Regions from separate parts of the Homo sapiens genome. Here region 2 is linked to region 1. The links are contacts of gene promoters, found by promoter capture Hi-C in blood cells and fetal thymus (Javierre and others, 2016). All regions are on one chromosome and are shown on one strand. Each heading gives the region's core, a stretch centred on a gene start or on the middle of the fragment in contact. The rest is flanking DNA. Distances are from core to core; before and after follow the strand shown.

The links. The method cuts DNA at HindIII sites, captures the fragments that hold promoters and counts their contacts. A CHiCAGO score of 5 or more calls a contact.
Region 2: a contact is called between a fragment that was not itself captured here and the fragment with the promoter of PGBD2 in region 1, in 3 of 17 cell types (naive CD8 T cells, total CD8 T cells and non-activated CD4 T cells). The highest score is 7.4, in naive CD8 T cells.

Annotation. Positions count from the first base shown.
Region 1 is chr1:248,900,771-248,907,484 of GRCh38, reverse strand. It overlaps PGBD2 (piggyBac transposable element derived 2), which reads right to left and starts at 1,250. Exons shown (of 3, transcript NM_170725.3): 1 at 1,143-1,250. RefSeq lists silencers at 805-894, 1,305-1,364 and enhancers at 985-1,174, 699-1,620. The HindIII fragment of the contact is 4,441 bases long and covers 1-3,285 here.
Region 2 is chr1:248,869,990-248,876,057 of GRCh38, reverse strand. TRL-CAA4-1 (tRNA-Leu (anticodon CAA) 4-1) reads right to left here and starts at 2,203; the gene lies at 2,098-2,203. It overlaps TRE-CTC2-1 (tRNA-Glu (anticodon CTC) 2-1), which reads right to left and starts at 1,810; the gene lies at 1,739-1,810. It also overlaps a transcript of PGBD2 not described here. RefSeq lists silencers at 1,713-1,862, 2,133-2,182 and enhancers at 2,433-2,542, 2,137-2,978, 2,979-3,820. The HindIII fragment of the contact is 9,859 bases long and covers 1-6,068 here.

The DNA of each region.
Region 1 (6,714 bases), core at 1-2,500:
ACACCCGTCTGTGCTGAGGTGGATTAGTAAAAGAGGAAAGCCTCTTGCAGTTGAGATAGATGAAGGCCACTGTGTCCTGCCTGCCCCTGGGAACTGAATGTCTCCGTACAAAACCTGATTGTACATTTGTTCAATTCTGAGATAGGAGAAAAACTGCCCTATGGCAGGAGGCAAGACATGTTGGCAGCAATGCTGCCCTGTTATTCTTTATTCCACTGAAATGTTTGGGCAGAGAGAAACATAAATGTGGCCTACGTGCACATCCAGGCATAGTACCTCCACTTGAACTTATGACATAAATTCTTTTGCTCACATGTTTCTTTGCTGACCTCCTTATCACCCTGCTCTCCTACCGCATTCCTCTTGCTGAGATAATGAAAACAATAATCAATAAAAACTGAGGGAACTCAGAGACCGGTGCTGGTGCAAGTCCTTGGTATGCTGAGTGCCGGTCCCCTGGGCCCACTGTGGTTTCTCTATACTTTGTCTCTGTGTCTTATTTCTTTTCTCAGTCTCTCCTCCCACCTGACAAGATATCCCACAGGTGTGGAAGGGCAGGCCACCCCTTCACCCAACAGCTCAGAATGGCTTTTGTGGGATACGGAAGAACCCTCCCTTCTCTTCACCTCACTAGCAAAAGAGAAAGAAGGGCAAACAAAGACCCTCAGAAACCTCAGCAGCTTCCCAGGCAGACGCAGTTAAAAACGACCCGCCCCCAGCGCGCCCCGGCACAGAGCCACCCCGCCCCAGGATGTGACGTGGCATTCGCAGTCCCGCCGCCAGCCTCAGGCCGCCCGCCTCCTTCGTCCCGCCCACCCCGCCCGAGCCTGCCCTGGTCCCTCCCACCCCGCCCTGAATCCATCCCTCTTTAGCCCGACCCCGCCCTGGTCCCCACCCACCCCGCTCCGCCTCCCGCTCAGCCGGCCCGGCCTCCGGCCTCGCACCCCAACCCGCAGAAGGAGCGCCCCCTTGCGGCCCTCGGAATCCCATTGTTCCTGTCCTGGTCCCGCCAGCCCACCGTCGGCGCGCAGTGGTGAGGACGAACTCCTCGGATGCCGCCGTTGAGAAAACGCAACATCAACGCCAACCACTCCTGTACTCAAGCGAAGCCCTGCCTGCAGCGCGAGCACACTGAGGCCTACCTGCCCTACCCCAGACGGAGACTCGCGAGCCCGAACCGGACCATGAGCCGCGCCGAATCGGAGCGCTGCGCCTGCGTTGGCGTCGGGCGTCGCGGCCGCGCAACGTCCGGCACCAGAGGGCTCGCTGCACCTCGGCCGGCCTTCCATGCCACGCCCCCGGGCCAGGCCACGCCCCGGCCCGAGCGACCATCGAGACTCCAGGACCTCCGCGGCGCCTAGAGGGATCCCGAAAACGCCTGCGAGGCCAGAACGGCCGAAATAACCCACCCCAGCGGGCCAGCTCTTCCCGCCACTCTCCCTTACCCTCCCACCCCTGTCCTACTTTGGAAACCTTCCTCGCTCCTTCCTAATCAGGAGAGCATGGGGACTTTCTAGGGTAGTGGTTCTCAAATGTGCCCCCAATCTAACAGCAGCTTCACCTGGGAAATCGATGGAAATGCAAATCTTGGGACCCCACTACAGGCCTTCTGAGTAAGAAACTCTGAGGGTGTGCCCAATAATCGGCCTTACCAACCCTGAAGGTAATTGTGGTACAAACTAGGGCTTGAGAACCACTGCTGTATGGCAGGGTTTCTCAACCTCCACTCTTGACATTTTGGGCCTGGATAATTCTTTGTTGAGAGGGAAGGAGGCTGTCCTGTGCATTATAGGAGGCAGGGTCACGGATAAAATACAGTTAAATTTGAGTTTCAGGTAACAGTGTTGTTCATCTAAGATTCACATTTAACTGGAAGTCCCTGTATTTCATCTGGCTACCTTGCCTACCTATATTTTTACTTGGTAAAAATAGAACCTTAATTGTAGGATATTGAGCATCCCTAGCAACTAAATGCCAGTAGCACACCACACTCTCTCCACTCTAGTTATGACAAATAAAAGTATCTCCCCCTACTTCTTGAGAATCACGGCTCTATAAGGACTTTGTCCAGCTGAAACCCAGTAGCCCATTAGGTATATAGGACAGTGTACTCCGCAGAAAACTGCCTTGCCCTGAAAGGCTTTGAACACAGAAATCCCTGGGACCAAACCGTGTTAACATTCAAAAAGAGGGCCACTTAGTGAAGAGTTTGTATTTGCTTCTCCACACTGACACTTCACAAAGGTTTTTTGGTCACTGTAAAGTGTGTTCCAAAACCCCTGGATCAGAAGAAAAAAATCATGCTCATTTGTGAGATTCTGAAGTGAAGGGCACGTATTAGTTTGTCATTCATTCCACATATGAGCAAATTGAGAAAACAGGCAATAAGCCATGGGAAAATGGGAGTGCTACTCTAGGTAAGGTAGGGTGGTGTTTCTAACTTGCTTTGTTCCCCAGATCCTGTGTCTCATTCATTCATTCAAGTGTTAAATGAGTGTCTTCTCTGTGACAATCACTCCTCTGAGCAGTGATGTTAGAACAGTGAAAAAGAAAAGGCACAAGAGAAAAACCCTCTTGTCATTTCAGTGGGAGAACCAGACAGTAAACAAAATATATGGCATGTCAAAGTGGAAAGTGCTAGGAAGAAAATAAAGGAAGCAAAGGGGACCAATAAGACTGTTGTGAATTCAGTTTTAAATAATTTGGTCAGGGAAGGTTGGTAAGTGAGAAGGTTGTATTTGAGGGAAAAGCCAAAGAATATGAAGAGCAAATTCCCCATGCAGAATTCAAGGGGGAAAATATTTGAAGCAGAGAGAATGGCATGTGCAAATGCTCTGAGGCGAAGCAAGCCTAGCACATTTGAGAATGGCTGGAGACAAAAGAAAGTCAAAGAAATGAGGTCAAAGAGGGGGTGAGTTCAACAAGGAGTAATAAGGTGCTTGCTGGCTGTTTCTTCCATACCTTTATGATCCAGAGAGAATTCTCACTGCAATTTGGATACTTGCATATGTAATTTAAAGTTAATAAAAAGATCGGGACCAAGTGTAAGTGTTTATGGAGCTGCAAAGAGTCCATCTAGACATTTTCAGTGCATTGCTTTGAATAAAGCTACGTTTAAAAACAAAGTCAAATCTTTGAAAACAATGTCAAATTTGGGGTAGAATGGCAGAAGAACTGCATGATAGGAATTGGGAAAAAAAAAAAAATTTAGCCCGTTAAGCTAGAATCCTTTGAGGAAAATACATATTTTGAAGTTCTTTAATTGAGAAATAGGCTAAATAAGCTTTAAGGAAAAAATTGGGGAAAATATTTAAATTATGTGTATTATGAGTAAATTTCATAAAAGCCTTGCAGCCTAGTTTGTTTATAGATACTATCTTGCTTTAGGGAGTTAACAAATAAAAAAAAAACATAAAAAGAAGAAAATGGACTTAGGGAATTAAACTTATATATTTATTAATTTATTTCATTTAGTTTATTTCACCTGTACATGTCTTTGTGTGTATGTATGGGGTGAGACTTTACATATAAAAATTCTCATGTCGCATTGACTAAATAACACCTTATGGTTGATGATGTTAGTACATAGCAGCAATTAAAGCTCAGCTACAAGTTGCTGACTACATTAAAGTTTTTGACAGCCATAGCAGTATCACAGCCTACCCAACAATTAAGAATGTCACATACATGAAACCACAGTTGTATGGAATTATGAGAAAATACTCATTAGTCCATCAGGATATTTTAGTTAAGGAAATTACTAGAGATATCAGGTGAGCTGGACCTGAAGAAAGAACCAGATGCCAAATAATTTCAGGCTAGAACTCCCAAGCGCCCATGATTAATGGGTCCAGGATAAGAAGAGATTGCTGGTTTCTTGAAGCTTGCTTGTTAATAAATGATATGGAGGTGGCATGCATTCCGATGACAATTGAATTGATTTGACGCACTATGTATGATTAAGGATTTGATGTCCTGCATAAAGTTAAGAATCAGGCTGGGCAGTGGTGGCTCACACCTGTAATCCCAGCACTTTGGAAGCCTGAGGTGGGAGAATCGCCTGAGGCCAAGAGTTCAAGACCAGCCTGGGCAACATAGTAAGACTATGCTACATTAAAGTTAGCCAGGTGTGATGGTACACACCTGTAGCCCCAGATACTCAGGAAGCTAAGACAGGAGGACTGCTTGAGCCCAGGAGTTTGAGACCTCAATGAGCTATGATCATGCCACTGCACTCCAACCTAGGTGACAGAATGAGACCCTGTCTCTAAAAGAAAACAAAAAATAAAAATAAATTTAAAGTTAAGAATTAGTTGATAGGGAGTCAGGAGCAATGGTTCATGTCTGAAATCCCAGAAATTTGGAAGGCCAAAGCAGGAGGATCATTTGAGCACAGAAGTTTGAGACCAGCCTGGGCAATATAGGAAGATCCCATCTCTACAAAAAAACTTGTTTTTTCTTCAGCTTTTATTTTAAGTTCAGGGGTACGTGTGCAGGGTGTGCAGGTTTGTTATATAGGTAAATGTGCCATGCTGATTTTGCTGCACAGATCAACCCATCACCTAGGTATTAAGCTTAACAAGCATTAGCTACTTTTCCTGATGCTCTCCCTCCCCATAGGTCCCTGACAGGCCCCACTGTGTTGTTCCCCGCCACCCCACCCCCACTGCCCCATCTGTGTGTTCTCATAGTTCATCTCCCACTTATAAGTGAGAACATGTGGTGTTGGGTTTTCTGTTCCTACATTAGTTTGCTGAGGATAATGGTTCCCAGCTCCATCCATCTCCCTGCAAAAAGATATGATCTCAATCCTTTTTATTGCTACATAGTATTCCATGTTGTATATGTACCACATTTTCTTTATCCAGTCTATCACTGATGGGCATTTGGGTTGATTACATGTCTTAGCTGTTGTGAGTAGTGCTGCAATGAACATATGCATGCATGGTATCTTTATCATAGAATGATTTATATTCCTGTGGGTATATGCCCAGTAATAGGATTGCTGAGTCAAATGGTATTTCTGATTTTAGATCTTTGAGGAATCACCACACTGTCTTTCACAATGGTTGAACTGATTTACATTTGAACCAACAGTGTAAAAGCATTCTGATTTCTCTGCAACCTTGCCAGTAACTATTGTTTCTTGACTTTTTAATAACTGACATTCTGACTGGCATGAGATGGTATCTCATTATAGGTTTTTTTTTTTTTTTGAGATGGAGTCTTGCTCTGTTGTCCAGGCTGGAGTGCAGTGGTACGATCTCAGCTCACTGCAACCTTCGCCTCCTGGGTTCAAGCAATTCTCCTGCCTCAGCCTCCCAAGTAGCTAGGACTACAGGTGTGTGCCACCATGCCTGGCTATTTTTTGTAATGTTAGTAGAGATGGGGTTTCACCATGTTGGCCAGGCTGGTCATGAACTCCTAGTCTCAAGTGATCCGCTTGCCTTGGCCTCTGAAAATGCTGGGACCACAGGCATGAACCATTTCGTCCAGCCTTCATTATAGTTTTGATTTGCATTTCTCTAATGATCAATGATGTTTTTAATGGGGCTGTTTGTTTTTGTTCTTGTAAATTTGTTTTTATTCCTTGTAGACTCTGGATATCAGACCTTTGTCAAATGAATAGATTGCAAAATTTTTCTCCCATTCTGGAGGTTGTCTGTTCACTCTGATGATGGTTTGTGGTTTTTTTGCTTTGTTTTGTTTTTGCTGTGCAGAAGCTTTTTAGTTTAATTAGATCCCATTTGTCAGTTTTCACTTCTGTTGCAATGGCTTTTGGCGTTTTTGTGATAAAGGTTTTGCCCGTGTCTATGTCCTGAATGGTATTGCCTAGATTTTCTTCTGGGTTTTTATAGTTTTGGATTTTACATTTAAGCCTTTAATCCATCTTGAGTTATTTTTTGTATAAAGTGTAAGGATGGGGTCCAGTTTCAGTTTTCTGCATATGGCTAGCCAGTTTTCCCAGTACCATTTGTTAAATAGAGAATTATTTCTTCATTGCTTGTTTTTGTCAGGTTTATCAAAGATCAGATAGTTGTAGGTGTGCAGTCTTATTTCTGAGTTCTCTAGTCTGTTCCATTGATCTATGTGTCATTTTTGTACCAGTACCATGCTGTCTTGGTTACCATAGCCTTCTTATATAGTTTGAAGTCGGGTACCCTGATGCCTCCAGCTTTGCTCTTGTTGCTTTGGATTGTCTTGGCTATTAGGACTTTTTTTTGGTTCCATATGAAATTTAAAATATATTTTTTTATTTCTGTGAAAAATGTCCATAGCAATTTAATAGGAATAGCATTGAATCTATAAATTAGTTTGGGCAATATGGCCATTTTCACAATATTGATTCTTCCTATCCCTGAGCATGGAATGTTTTCCCATTTGTTTGTGTCCTCTCTGATTTCCTTGAGCAGTGGTTTGTAGCTCTCCTTGAAGAGGTCCTTCACTTCCCCTGTTAGCTTTATTCCTAGGTATTTTATTTTGTTTGTGGGCATTGCGAATGGGAGTTCATTCATGGTTTGGCTCTCTGCTTGTCTGTTCTTGGTACATAGGAATGCTTGTGATTTTCATACACTGACTTTGTATCCTGAGACTTTGCTAAAGTTCCTTATGAGCTTAACAAGCTTTTGGGCTGACCCAATGGGGTTTTCTAGATATATGATCATGTCACCTGCAAACAAAGATAATTTAACTTCCTCTCTTCTACTTGAATAA
Region 2 (6,068 bases), core at 2,383-4,882, 34 kb after region 1:
CAGCCTGGGCAACAAGAGTAAAACTCCGTCTCAAAGAAAAAGGAAAAAAAAAAAAAAAGAACAGTTTAAAGTCACACATATTCAAGCAGAATGTGTACAGTTCTAGGAACAAGGATGTGACAAACAGCCCATTTTACCAAACTTACCACCACTAGATAAATATTATTTAAGAAAATTTCTATAAATATTTGTAGCAATTTGAATTATTTCAAACTAGTCATTTCAGCAGTACAAGAAGCAGAAATTCAGGAAGTTAAAACAGGCCTATTTGTTTTAAACATTGTGGAAAACACAAACGTGCATGGACCTGGTTCCGTCTGATCGTGTAGAGTGTATGATAACACAGCCTTGGCCTGGAGATCTGAAAAAGATACCCAGAGAGAAATAAAACTTTGGAAAACCATAACAAATTAGGTGCATAGGCTCATAATATTACAAAATGTTAAGAAGATAGAACTTAAATGTGGTTTAGGAGTTTTTAATTATTAAAATATTTTTCACAGGCTTCCCAAATTTAAAAAATGGGCAATAAAAAACTTAGAATAAAAACTAAAAGCAGCTGTAAAAGACATTTTAAGGCCAATTGGGGAAAATTCGAATGTAGACTAGCATATGACAGCATGTTAATGTCAATTTTCTTAGGTGTGACATGGAGTAATGGCATATCTGTGACTTTCAAGTTGGGGGGACAGTTTTACAGATCTCAACTTTCTTTCTTTTTTTCTTTTCTTTTTTTTTTTTTTTTTTTTGTTTTGTTTTTTTGAGACGGAGTCTCGCTCTGTCGCCCAGGCTGGAGTGCAGTGGTGCGATCTCGGCTCACTGCAACCTCCGCCTCCCAGGTTCACGCCATTCTCCTGCCTCAGCCTCCTGAGTAGCTGGGACTACAGGCACCTGCCACCACGCTCAGCTAATTTTTGTATTTTTAGTAGAGACGGGGTTTCACCCTGTCAGCCGGGATGGTCTCGATCTCCTGACCTCGTGATCCGCCCACCTCAGCCTCCCAAAGTGCTGGGATTACAGGCGTCAGCCACCGCGCCAGGCCATACAGATCTCAACTTTCAAGTGGAATAGGGAAGGTATACCTATCTCTATCTATTTGTCTATCTATCTATCTATCTATCTATCTATCTATCTATCTATCTATCTATCTATCTCTATCTACCTATCTATCTACCTTGGAAGAGAGAGAGAGAGAGAGAATGTGACAAAATATTAACCAGTGTTGATTGCAGGTAAAGAGAAACCAGGGTTGGTTGTGGCATTATTTCAATTATCTCTACTTATTTAAAAAATGAAAAGATAGATGCTGGGGTGAGGGAGAAGTACCTGATCTCTTTCCATAGCGACAATTACTCAAGCGTCGTTAAGGAGCTAGGACCGGCCCTGACCCGCCCCTCTAGGCAACAGGTGCCATTCTAATGGCCTTTGGACACCTAGGGAGACTTTTTGAAATCTGTGACATAATTTTAAGACCAGCCATTTTTGGCATACCCAGAGCTATCTTTTTGGATCATTTTGTGCTGCTGGCATTTTTTCTCCGTTCTTAAGATATCATGAGTAAAGACACTGACTACATATACGGCGCGCATAAACTGCAGTAGAGTCCATTTCAGGTAACTACTCTGCAAAATGAGGACACCAGGTGCGTTTTGCCCTTTGTTTAGAAGTCAAGTCATAGCTGACTCTGGGAACATCACCTATGGTTAGCCCTGCGGCAACAGTTTTTAAAACGGCTTACTTTCCTGACCGGGAATCGAACCCGGGCCGCGGCGGTGAGAGCGCCGAATCCTAACCACTAGACCACCAGGGAAGACATGATGCGTCATTTAGCAATATGCTATACTAAATAAATATCCTGTGACGTATCTCCTATAGAAACATGATTGGATGCGGTTTTCTCGCAACATTTGGGAATATGCAGACTGCTTCCCTCCCCTTGGTAGGTAGCCCCCTTGCTGCGGCAGACAGGGAAAACCGGGCAGCAAAGATGAGTAGTCTAGTTGTAACCTTCTTCCTGGAGAAGACAATAAAATACCAACGGACTCCGGGAAAATTCTGGGGTTTCTTCCGGGGAATAAAATGCTAATAAAACGAATGTGTCAGAAGTGGGATTCGAACCCACGCCTCCATCCGGAGACCAGAAAGCCCGCAGGCAAGGTGCTTACCTTGAGTCTGGCGCCTTAGACCACTCGGCCATCCTGACACTCGGAAGCAGAGCGCTTCTCACTTAGCCTCATACTTGTGTCCGCTGGTGCCAGCCTGCCGCGTCACACCCGAGTTGCGGCCGTGGGAACCCTACTGACTGGTCGCGACGTTTCAGCGCTTCCCGTTCCCGGCGGAGCTCTGGAGAAAGCCGCGACTGCAATGCAGCCAGGAGTGGCCGATAGCGCTCTCCCAGGCCGGGAATCGAAGCTAACGACCAGGGGTTAGTGACCGTGTGCCAGCGCCTGGCCCCGCAAACGCAGGACAATGCCTGAGAAAGGCAAAGCTCGAGCTACCGCCTCACCTTCCGGCCCAAGCTGGGGAAACTCTGGCAAGCAGTTACTACTCGGAAAGTAGTTGGAAAAACGCTTGCCACTAAGTGACGAATGGATGCTTTTGTTTTTCTTCATTATCATCATTATTATAGCGGCTTTCTGCTTTATTGTGCCTGCGCGTACCCTCCCCTCAAGGTCCACCGCGCTTCCTCCACGAAACCACACAGATACGGTTGGCGATAACGGCCGGATCGGGAGGTCCTAGGTCAGAGGGGCCTGATGCGGGCCTCGCCTGAGGTGAGGGAAGTCAGGCTGCGTTTACACAGCAGTTAACGAGTGCCTTAGCGTCCAATGGGAAGGCCCGGGACTCGCAGTGCAGAGCAGCTCTGGCAGTGTCCTCCCGGTGGGCTGTGAGGTTACCTGTGAGCCCAGATACCACTCGTCCAGGCATTCATTCGTTGAATCTTAACATCGAGTGTCCACTGGGAACACAACGGTAAATAGACAAAGCCCCAACTTGGTGAGCTGATTTGCTAGTGAAGGAGATGACCAGCACAATCACATGTACAGAGTGTGAGGAAAAACCAAAAGCAATGAAGTGGTGGAGAAGTTCTATTTTTAGACTGTGCAGTTAAGTAAGGCCTCACTAAAGTGACTTTTGCTAAAATATTTTTCAAAAACTAAAATATATGTCATGCAGCCGGGCGCGGTGGCTCATGCCTGTAATCCCGCCACCACGTTGGGAGGTGGGCGGATCACCTGAGGTCGGGAGTTCGAGACCAGCCTGACCAACATGGAGAAACCCCGTCTCTACTAAAAATACAAAATTAGCCGGGCATGGTGGCACATGCCTGTAATCCCAGCTACTCGGGAGCCTGAGGCAGGAGAATCGCTTGAACCTGGGAGGCGGAGGTTGTGGTGAGCCGAGATCGCGCCGTTGCACTCCAGCCTGGGCAACAAGAGTGAAACTCTGTCTCAAAACAATAAAATAAAATAAAATAAAATAAGAATGTCATACAAATATAAAATCCACGTGTCAAGATTTTATTCAATTAACTAATGATGAAAGATAATAACTTTAAAGAGAAAATTATTCTGATACTTGTTCAAACAGCAAGGGAGAATTTTATTCAAACTATTACAATAGGGGTGAGAGACTGGGCGCAACTCCAAATCAACAAAGACAACTAGAAATTTAAAGCCAAGGAGCAGAGTGTGGGGGGTGGGGGGGATCAGTGGATGGAAAATTACTAAGAAAATGGGCCAAGTGGGGCAGCTCAGGCCTGTAATCCCAGTGCTTTGGGAGGCCTAGTCAGGAGGATCGCTTCTGCCCAGGAGTTTGAGGCTTCAGTGAGCTATGATGAAGCTCGCCTTTCAAAGAAAGAAAATTACTAATAGGAGACATTAAGGGTAAGGGAGAAGGAAAGAAGGAAGGAAGGGAGGCAGGAAAAATTACTAATAGGAGTAGGGGTTACATACTAAACAGGCCTTAAAAGATTCTACTTACTGGAGGCCAAAGACTTGGACACCAAAGGTGAGAAATTCAAAGGTGAGGAATGAGTAACTTGATCAATATCAAGGCTGGGGGAATTCACACTAAACTGACTTAGCAGGACTGTTTGCTAAGACTAGGCTTTACAGGCCAAAGACAGGATAGGGGCCAAGGTAGAGGCCTAATCAAAAACAGGAATCAGAGGCGCCTGACTGAAGTTTGGTCAAGGAAGGTCTTTGTCAATGACCTATACAATGTTACCAATGTTACAACTAATTAAAAGGAGAATTTCGAGAGACTTTTAAAATAATAATTCAGCCAAATGAAGGCTGAAAAGAGGTTGCTAACAGATTAAAGTTGGGTTAATATCCTGAGTAATAAACTGTGATAATGGAAGTTGGGATTTCTACTCCGGGGTTATCTTTTCTTTGCCGGAGATAAATCGGTTGTGTCTCTTGACAAATTTTACTTATATTGCTATCCTTGGTCTTGCTCTCAGACAGAAACCATTTTCATTACTATTAGTTTTCTAAAAGTTAACCTTGGCCGGGCGCTGTGGCTCACGCCTGTAATCCCAGCACTTTGGGAGGCCGAGGCGGCCAGATCACGAGGTCAGGAGATGGAGACCATCCTGGCTAACACGGTGAAACCCCGTCTCTACTGAAAATACAAAAAAATTAGCCGGGCATGGTGGCGGGCACTTGTAGTCCCAGCTACTCAGGAGGCTGAGCCAGGAGAATGGCGTGAACCCGGGAGGCAGAGTTTGCAGTGAGACAAGACCACACCACTGCACTCCAGCCTGGGTGACAGAGCGAGACTCTGTCTCAAAAAAAAAAAAAAAAAAAAAAAAGTTAACCTCTACCTCCCTACCAAGCTGCAAAATAGCCAAGTCAATAAAAATTAATAAAGGTGCACATGCCAATGGAAACAGATAATCCCACAAAGGTCTGCTAGACAATGCCAAGTTCCATGGGAAGGACACCTAGTAATCTCTTTTGTCTATTTCCAGGTTTTTAATATTTTTTCCTTTTTAAAATATTTTATCTTTAATTGACAAATAATAATTATATATCTTTATGGAGTACCATGTGATGTTTCAATTCATGTACACATTGTGAAATGATCAAATAAGGCTAATTAACATATCCATCACCTCCCATGCTTTTATGATTTCTTTGTGGTCAGAACATTTAAAATCCACTCCTGCAGGAATTTTGAAATATGCATTATTATTAACCACAGTCACCATTCTGTGCAGTAGGTCACAAGAAATCATTCCTCCTGTTGAACTAAAACTATGTACCTTTTAACCAACATTCCACCCTCTTTCCTCATTCCACCCCCCTCTCCCAGCCTCTGATAACCACCATTCTACTCCTTTTTTCTATGAGTTCGATTTTTTTAGATTCAAAACATAAGGGATAACATGAAGTATTTGTCTTCCTATGCCTGGCATATTTCAGGTAGCAGAAGGCTGTCTAGATTCACCCATGTTGTCACAAATAACATAATTTTATTAACCATTCATCCTTGATGGGTATTATGGTTGTTTCCATATCTTACCCATTGTGAGTAATGCTGCAATAAACGTGAGAGTGCAGGCATCTCTTGAACATAATGATTTCAATTACTTTGGATATATACCCAGTAGTGCGAGTGCTGGATCATATGGTAATTTTGTTTAAGTTTTATGAGGAGCTTCCATACTGTTGTCTATAATAGCTGTACTAATTTACATTCCCACCAACAATGTGCAAGATTTCCCTTTTCTCCTCATCCTCACCAATGATAGTTATCTTTCATCTTTTTGATAATAGCCATTCTAACAGATGGAAGGTAATATCTTTTTTTTTTTTTAGGAAACAGAGGTTCGTTCTTGTCACCCAGGCTGGAGTGCAGTGGCGCAATCTAGGCTCACTGCAACCTCCACCTCCTGGGTTCAAGCGATTCTCCTGCCTCTGCCTCCCGAGTACCTGGGATTATGGGAACGCACCACCACGCCCAGCATAATTTTTGTTTTTAGTAGAGACAGGGTTTCACCATGTTGGACAGGCTTGTCTCGAATTCCTCAGGTGATCCACCTGCCTCGGCCTCCCAAA